Regions from separate parts of the Homo sapiens genome. Here region 2 is linked to region 1. The links are contacts of gene promoters, found by promoter capture Hi-C in human tissues and cell types (Jung and others, 2019). All regions are on one chromosome and are shown on one strand. Each heading gives the region's core, a stretch centred on a gene start or on the middle of the fragment in contact. The rest is flanking DNA. Distances are from core to core; before and after follow the strand shown.

The links. Contacts are between HindIII fragments. The study calls those that stand out against the background at their distance.
Region 2: a contact is called between a fragment that was not itself captured here and the fragment with the promoter of CLDN23 in region 1, in 3 of the 25 tissues and cell types used here (IMR-90 fibroblasts, dorsolateral prefrontal cortex and hippocampus).

The regions. Positions count from the first base shown.
Region 1 is chr8:8,699,550-8,704,085 of GRCh38, reverse strand. CLDN23 (claudin 23) reads right to left here and starts at 2,149. Exons shown (of 1, transcript NM_194284.3): 1 at 1-2,149. The coding sequence starts at 1,687. The coding sequence ends at 809. RefSeq lists an enhancer at 1,356-2,323 and a silencer at 1,797-2,416. The HindIII fragment of the contact is 23,279 bases long and covers 1-4,536 here.
Region 2 is chr8:8,427,684-8,432,219 of GRCh38, reverse strand. No RefSeq gene overlaps it. Among named protein-coding and RNA genes, the nearest start is that of LINC02949, 5.4 kb to the right of the region's middle. The HindIII fragment of the contact is 5,506 bases long and covers 1-4,536 here.

The sequences.
Region 1 (4,536 bases), core at 900-3,399:
AATTTTATTTATAAATAAAAGATATATACATATGTGCTTTAATATGATTAACAGGTTCCATTTTGTACAAAATGTTAAACCTAGAGTCCTCTGCGTCCTGGATGAGGCGTCCAAAGGGTGGAATAGTACAGCATTAGGACCTTTGTTCTCCTCTTGGCTTCTGGAAGAGAAACTCTTGCATGCCCTCGACTTTCACCGCAAAAATAAGTGAGAAAAAAGATAAATCCCATTTATGCAATGATATGTAGCTATGAGTTAATCACGGTATTTCATTCCATGAAATCCATTAAGCTGCTGGCATTTGCATGGCTCTAAGTTTATTTTAAGAGGCTCATTCAAACATGGCCAGGAATATATTGGCCTCTTGAGAGTTTGCATGGCAAGGAGTTATACAGCAGGAAAAAGAAAAAAAACCCAATAATTATATTGATGCAAGATTCATCAGTATTTTAGAATATTGTCGTTTCAACATGTTAAATTGTTTCTGAGCACTGCTGATTTCAGCACTGTCCCTGGTCCACGTGACGCAAATGCCACCCTTTCCATATATTCTTCAGCAAAAATATATGAAAAGCCCGTCACTCCCTAAGAGGACCCTGATCCCTCTGGAGAGGAAAACTAAACTCTTTAAGAAGAAAACCAAACCCAACCTGAACTAATCGTCCAAGGAGTCCTGTTTGGTCCCACGAAAGGCAGATTTCCATCCACACCAGTGAGGGGCAAGTGTCCGGGTTCCAACTCGAAGCCAGGCGGGCCTGTGCGGGGGTGAGTCCTTTGCCACCCGGCGCCCCCCAGGCTCTACAAGCGTCTAGAGGTCGGAGTCGCAGGGCAGCGAGCTGTCGCAGGGGTGGGTGCTGCACGAGGGAGCGTCCTGGGACTCCCACCCCTCCCCGTCGAGGACGTCCACCGAGTTGGTGTAGGCCTTGGGCCGCGGCCGCGGCATGGGGAAGCCGACCTTGGGCTTGGGCTTGGGCTTGCGGTGCTGGGCAGGCGGCGGTCGGTGCTGGCCGTCGCTGTAGTACTTGATGGCGGGCGCCAGGTCGGGCTCGGGCCACTCCACTTGGATGGTGCTGACGCTGCTGCGGCGAGGCCCGGCGGAGGGTCCCTTGCGGCGGCGGCGACAACGCTCGTCGCACCAGGGCGCGAAGCTGAGCGCCAGCGAGAAGCCGCCCAGCAGCAGGAGGCAGCTGCCCAGGTAGCCCAGGACCAGGCTGTAGCTGACCTGCACCGTGACCGGGCTGGCCGGGGCGGGCAGCACGTCGCGGTCCCCCAAGAAGTGGTTGTACCAGGACACCGGGATGAGGCCGAGGAGGCCAGCGACGAAGAGCACGACGCCCGAGAGCCCTGCCAGCACGAAGTTGGGCTCGTCCTGCCAGCAGCGCACGCCCAGCGACGCCAGCAGAAGCCCCAGGACCGTGGCGGCCAGCGAGGTGACCATGAGTGCCCGCGCCACCAGCACGGGCTGGGCCTCGAAGTAGCCCCACTGGTCCGTCTGGCCGCACTCGCGCTCGCGGCTGCTCTGCTCGCGACACATGTCCCACAGGCCCTGGTACAACTCCACGTCCACTGGCTGGTTCAGGAAGCCCTTCACCAGCCGCCAGCCGGGCGCCAGGGTGCCGGTCAGGTTGAGCAGGAGCCCGCAGGGCGCCAACACCATGCCCAGCGTCATCACCACCGGCGTCCGCATCCCGGCCCGCCGCGCCGACGGCGCCCCTGCAGCCTGCCTTCCTTCTCCGCTGTCGCCTTCTCCGCCGTCGTCTTCTCCCTGCCGTGCCCCAGGCTCCGGGGACCCGAAGTCAGCGCGGACGCCCCGGGCTCCGGGTCGGGCTCCTGAGCCCTGATCGCTCCAGGGACGCTCTTTGTCTCCTGCACGGGGACCGTCCCCACTTAGGCTAGTTCCCTCCTGGCGTCCCGGCCGCTCCGCCCTCCTACTGGCCCTAATCGAAACCAGCCCGCGGGCGGGTCTGACCGAAACCGCGGGTCCGGGCGCGGGCGCCCAGGGGCGGCTGCCGCGGCCAAACCTGGCCCGGGAGGGAGGGACCCGAGGTGAGCGCAGGAAGCGGCGGGGCCACCTCGCCCGCGGCAGGTGAGATGGGGATCCGAGCGGCGGGGACACCCCACCTTGCAGCCGGGCGGCTGGGCCACGCCTGGCCTGGACTGCTCACGGCCGGAGCAAAGGTCGCCCCGCCCCTGGGTCCTCGCGCCGCCCCGCCGGGCCAGGCGGGCGGTGGGCGGGGAGGGAAAGAGGCGGCGCTGGCGGGACGCGGTGGCTGCGCAGCTTCCCTGCTGCTCAGCGGATCTCGGTTCCTAGAATTTGTTTCCGGTCCCTGCCCGTCGACCCTGCGCTTATAGCTTAGCCCTTTACTCCCAGAGGGTTCCAGATCGCCCCCTGGTTTGCTCTGCAACTTGCAGCCACTCGCAGAGAAGTGGGCGGTGCCGAGCGCTCCCGGGGATTGGAGGTGCGCTGGGTGAGTGTGCAGAAGCCCACCCAGTCCAGGAGCGTGTCCCAGAACGTTGCACCGGATTATTTCCTTAATAAAGGCTCCACACTCTGGATTAAATTCGTCTCTAAAGAATCTGTGCCAGTGTACTTCTGGGCAGAAGGGTTACACAAGGATTTTACTTTCCTTTTTCAGCCTTGTGAGACTTTCAAGGGGACTAGAAAGAGGGACCAGTGTTCCCGGATGTCCTGCTTAGCGTTTTTTGCAGGTTTATTTAATTTTACAGTGTACTGTGGCCTTTCTCGTCTGTAGGTTATTTTACAACTCTATAAATTATAGAAAGCCTGTAGTATTGCAAATGACTTTTGCCAACATCAAGGCTAATGAGTTCGTCCCAGTGGAATGATTATTGTCCAATGGATACTGACCAGTATGGCATTGATTTGTAAATTCATTTTAGCATTCCTGTTTGTCTGTATATGTGTGTCCTTTTGTTCTTTGCTTTTTTTTTTTCCTTTTTCTTTTATTTATTTATTTATTTATTTATTTATTTATTTATTTTAAACAGGGTTGGGGAGTTTCGCTGTGTTGCCCAGGCTGGTTGCAAACTCCTGGGCTCAGGTGAGTCTCCCGCCTCAGCCTCTGGAGTAGCTAGGACTGCAGGCAAGTGGCCAGCTTCTTTGGTTTTAACATCATACTGGTTTCCTTATTCAATAATGAGTTAAATAACCTCTTTCACACATATTCATTTTATATTTGTGTGAAAGTCACGATGTTTACATTTTTTCTAAAAATTATCCTTTAATAACACTTTTTTGTATTTTCTAGATTTTTACAATGAAAACGTATTGCCTTTATAATTGTTTAAAATTAAAACTATTTTTAAAATTCAAGTTAATTTAGCATTGGTTTGAAATAATTTTGAATATTCCAGAGTGGACAACACTAGGAATGACAGTGACTGCTTTTTTTAAAAGAATATTTTTAAATTAAAAAAAAAACCTGTGGTAACATATATGTAACATACAGTTGACCGTTGTAACCATCTTTAAGTGTACAGCTCATTGGTATGACATACATTCACATTGTTGTGATACCCTCACCACCATCCACTCCTGGGATTTTTTCCTCTTCCCAAACTGACACTGTACCCACTAAACACTAACTCTCCTTTCCTCCCTCCCTCACAGGCCCTGGTGATCACCATTCTACTTTTTTCTCTCTATAAATTTAACTACTTTAGGTACCTCATAGAACTGGAATCGGACCGTATTTGTCCTTTCGTGACTGGCTTATTTCACTGAGCTTAATGTCCTCCAGGTTCATCCATATTGTAGCATGTGTCAGAATGTCCTTCCTTTTGAAGGTTGAATGATATTCTATTGTGCATAAATACCACATTTTGTTTATCCAGTCTTCCATCCATAGACACTTAGATTGCTTTTACCTTTTGGCTATTGTGAATAATGCTGTTGCATCATTTATGTAATAGTGATATATACATCACTTTTAATTTTTTTTAATTAAAAAAATTTTTTTTGAGATGGAGTCTTGCTCTGCTGCCCAGCCTAGAGTGTGACGGCAAAATCTCGGCCCACTGCAACCTCTGGTTCCTGGGTTCAAGCAAGCAGTTCTCCTGCCTCAGCCTACCTAGTAGCTGGGATTATAGGCACCCACCACCATGCCCAGATAATTTTTGTATTTTTAGTAGAGACGGGATTTTACCTTGTTGCTCAGGCTGGTCTCGAACTCCTGACCTCAACTCATCTGCCAACCTTGGCTTCCCAAAGTGCTGAGATTACAGGTGTGAGCCACTGTGCCTGGCCTATGCATCATTTAAAATTTGTCTTGTTTCATTAACTGTGTGGTGATTAACTATCTAAAGCAGGAATCAGTCTGCCATCCCTCTCATACATGTCAGAAGGTATCATGTGTGACACTGCCACTTCATAAATGCTTCATGTGATTTGAATCCTCTTCCAACATAGTTTCGTTTTTGCTTAGATCTCTGTGGAATGAGTGAAGCCCAGGTGTTATTTACCTGTGGGGAGGAAGGGCATCCTGGGGGTTCTACCTCCTAAATCTGTCTTTCGTC
Region 2 (4,536 bases), core at 1,401-3,900, 270 kb after region 1:
GTCTTGGGTGTAGGAACGCATCACACTTGAGTGGGCACCCTATCTCTAAGATTAGACGCTGGAGATACCACAGAGCAGGAACCAATGTATCTGGTTTTGTTTGTCCAGATTCTATCACATTTTGTTTTGTTTTTATGGTGGTTGGTAATGCCAGGTAATTCCCTTAGGGCAGGAAAAACCTGGGGTTTTCAGAAGACATCATGAGGATACTTAAATATGTTGACAGAGGTCACAGCATGGTGGTTTTGTGAACATAACATCTAGAACTATGCATTGGCTTAAACAGCAACAACTAAACTATAGTATTGGTATTGGTATTTCTCTAGAATCTGAAATGTCAGAGAACTTGAGAACCCACTAAAAAGACATTATATAATGTATTAGTCAGGGTTCTCTAGAGGGACAGAACTAATGGAACATATGTATATATATACATATACATATATATACACATATACATATATATGTGTGTGTGTGTATATATATATATATATGTGTGTGTGTGTGTGTGTGTGTGTGTGTGTGTGTGTGGGAGCTTATTAAGTATTAACTCATAGAATCACAAGGTCCCACAATAGGCCATCTGCAAGCTGAGGAGCAAGGAGAGCCAGTCCAAGTTCCAAAACTGAAGAACCTGGAGTCCAGTGTTCCAGGGCAGGAAGCATCCAGTATGGGAGAAAGATGTAGGCTGGGAGGCAAGGCCCGTCTCTCTTTTCACATTTTTCTGCCTGCTTATATTCTAGCCAAGTTGGCAACTGATTAGATTGTGCCCACCAAGATTAAGGGTGGGTCTGCCTTTGCCAACCCACTGATTTAAATGTTCGTCTCCTTTGGTGACACCCTCACAGACACACCCAGGATCGATACTTTGTATCCTTCAATCCAATCAAGTTGACAATCAGTATTAACCGTCATATATAACTTGCTCTTTTTTATAAGGATTGTGGAAAATTTCTGTCTAAAATTTGCAAAGCCCTCCAACTTTGTGGGAAATAGCTGGATGGGAAAGATATGATTATCAAGTATTAACCTAATTTTTAAGTGAATAGGGTAGAATATTAAGATTAAAGTGAGCATTAATTTTCAAAATAGTCACCCTAGAAGGTTATGCCTATAGCTCAATGCAACTGCTATTTCTCAAAATATTTCTAGAGAATTATTTTTGAATTGCATTTAAAATTGAGTTAGGAGCCACCCCAGAAAAGCAGTCTTATTACAATATACTTTAACCTTTTTAAAGCTCATATATCTTTTTGAAATATTAAAGGAAAAAACAAGACCCTCAGCTACTCCCTATCCCAAACCTCATATCACTTATATCATATAAGAAGGCTTAGAATTTTTTTTTTTTTTTTTTTTTTTTTTTGAGACGGAATCTCACTCTGTCTCCCAGACTGGAGTGCAATGGTGTAATCTCGGCTCACTGCAACTTCCCCCTCCCTGATTCAAGCGATTCTCCTGCCTCAGCCTCCGGAGTAGCTGGGACTACAGGTGCCCGCCACCACGCCCGGCTAATTTTTTTTGTGTGTAATTTTAGTAGAGACGTGGCTTCACCGTGTTAGCCAGGATGGTCTGGTGCCCAGCCTTCAGACAGATTCTTAAGGACTTTTTATATTGCTATTCTGAAATGGACAATAGCTTTTGTATACTTAAAATCCAATAGATTAATTTTAAAAAATTAAATTAAATTTTAAAAATTAATTAAAAATTAACTTAAAAAATTAATCTTAATACTCATATCTATGAGTTACAGTTTTTAAACATAAAGCTTGTTCGGGCCCGGCGCAGTGGCTCACGCCTGTAATCCCAGCACTTTGGGAGGCTGAGGCGGGTGGATCAGCAGGTCAGGAGATTGAGACCATCCTAGCTAACACGGTGAAATCCCATCTCTACTAAAAATACAAAAAATTAGCCAGGCGTGGTGACAGGTGCCTGTAGTGTGAGCTACTCAGGAGGCTGAGGCAGGAGAATGGCATGAACCCGGGAGGTGGAGCTTGCAGTGAACTGAGATTGCGCCACTGCACTCCAGCCTGGGCGACAGAGCAAGACTCTGTCTCAAATAAATAAATAAATAAATATTGTTCTTGTGTTACATGTCATTGTAGATTAGAATCACATGTACTTGGCCAGGCATGGTGGCTTGTGTCTGTAATCCCAGCCCTTTGGGAGGCTGAAGTGGGCAGATCACCTGAGGTCAGGAGTTCGAGACCAACCTGGCCAACATGGTGAAACCCCGTCTCTAATAACAATACAAAAATTAGATGGGCGTGGTGACAGGTGCCTGTAGTCCCAGCTACTCTGGAGGCTGAGGCAGGAGAATCGCTTGAACCCGGGAGGCGGAGGTTGAAGTGAGCCCAGATCTTGCCGCTGCACTCCAGCCTGGGTGACAAGAGTGAGACTCTGTCTCAAAAAAATAAAAAAGAATCACCTGTACTTAGAGAGCAACATCTGATCCCAAGTTTAGTAGTGACACAGTGTATAAATCTGGGGACTTGAGAGACAGGCCATGGGAGGACATTTGTACTTAGAGAACATCAGTATATAAGCAAGTTGTTATACAAGTAAGTGTGTGTGTATGCAATCGCGCGCGCGTGTGTGTGTGTGTGTGTGTGTGTGTGTGTTTTGGGTTGGTGAGTGAGTCAGGCAAAGCATATATTGAAACTTACTTCAAAGACACTTTTGAAGGCTGACCACTATTATGTAAACAATGAAAAGAATTTGACTGATCAAAGAGAGAAGTTTGTAAATGACCTCTGCCATGCATGCATCTTGAATATTTGTTTTCACTTACACAAAGTCTGTATCCTGTCAAAGTCATGGTTAAAATATTTGAAGTTTGAACAGGCATGGGTAATTGTGGGAGATAACTTGTGGGGGATAATTTATGATAGGAAAATCATAAATTCACATGAGGAAGAGGAAACTACCTCATCTGTCCTATCCTAGGAAAGTCTGATGATGATGATGGTAATGATGACAGTGACGATAAAAATGATGTTGTTGGTGATATTGATGATAGTGGTAATGGTGATGATGGCTGTGGTAGTATTGATGATGATGGTGTTAATCATGTTTCTGCTGGCTATGGTTGTGGTTGTCAAATTGTTCCTTACAGGGGCTGATTCTTCAGATTTTTATAGCAACTTTGTCCCAGTTGGCTCCACTGAACCAAACAGGACTTCCTGAAGTTTCATATTATCTCAGAAGCAAAAACACAGAAAAAGAGTCATCTTTGTTTTAAAAGAGTGGAAGAAAATGTACCAAAGTGAGAGACCATCTATCTTATCAGAAATAGTATTTTTATTCCATAGCGAACCTGGGATCTGAGCCTTAATTCCCAGGCAGCTCTCCAGCCATACGAATTCACTGTGACATTCAGTGGTGTTCTGAAGCTTTGTTGTATTCTGGTAAAGGTTACAAAAATATCCATTTTGAAGTGCCAATGTGAGTTTCTCTAGAAATACAATTTTTAGCAGCATCAGGATTAATATGAACATTTCAGAAGTTAAACTGATTGTTTAAAAAAAAAAAAAAGAGTAAGCCAAGCATGATGGCTCATGCCTGTAATTGCAGCACTTTGGAAGGCACAGGTGGGTGAATTGCTTGAGTCCAGAAGTTTGAGAACAGCCTGGCCAACATGGGGAAACTCCATCTCTACAAAAAATACAAATATTAGCCAGGCATGATGGTGTGTGCCTGTAGTCCCAGCTACTCAGGATGTGAGGTGGGAGGATCTCTTGAGCCCGGGAGGTGCAGGTTGCAGTGAGCCACGATCGTGCTGCTGCATTCCAGCTTGAGTGATGGAGCGAGACCCTGCCTCAACAACAACAACAACAAAAAAAAAAAAAAAAAAGAGAGAGAGAGAGAAAAGAAAGAGTAAACAGCAAGATATTATACAATTCTGAGGAACTCGGGTTCAAATCTCATCTTCCCACTCTCATGCTTTATGAAATTAAACAAGTTAACCTCTCTGAGCCTCAGTTTCTTCATCTGTGAAATGAGAATAATCTATTTGCCACATGAGTTAGAGGGATTCAATCTGTCGCTTCTTGACAGCCACCTGGGTCAGAGCAAGTGTTCCCTCGGTGGCAATGACCTAATCTCTCCTCCTCCCACAAAGGCACAGTCATCATTCCTTTGTGCCAGTCTGTGAGCTGAACACTCCTAGAGATGCAAAAAAAAGTCGCAGACAGGTTATAGTCTTCCAAACACCTGCATAGATTTATGTGGGCCCCTTAAAGAGATAATGATTTGTAGCAATAGAATTTTAGCCAGCTGGGCATTTATTGTTTAAGTGTGTCAAGTAGCAGAGTGTTTTGAATGTCAATGATTAGCTTACTTCCACCCAGAGTTTAGACACTTACTTCATGTGTTTGTTTGGAGATCAAGGCCTGCGATACCAAAAAAGGAAATGGAACATAGTTCTCTCACGTGCTCAATCTAGAGAATTAGTTGGAGCTAGGGTCTGTCTAGTCTTTTTAAATGAGCTGTTGTATATACCTTTGCTTTTTAAAAAAGAAAAAGAGAAAGAAAAAT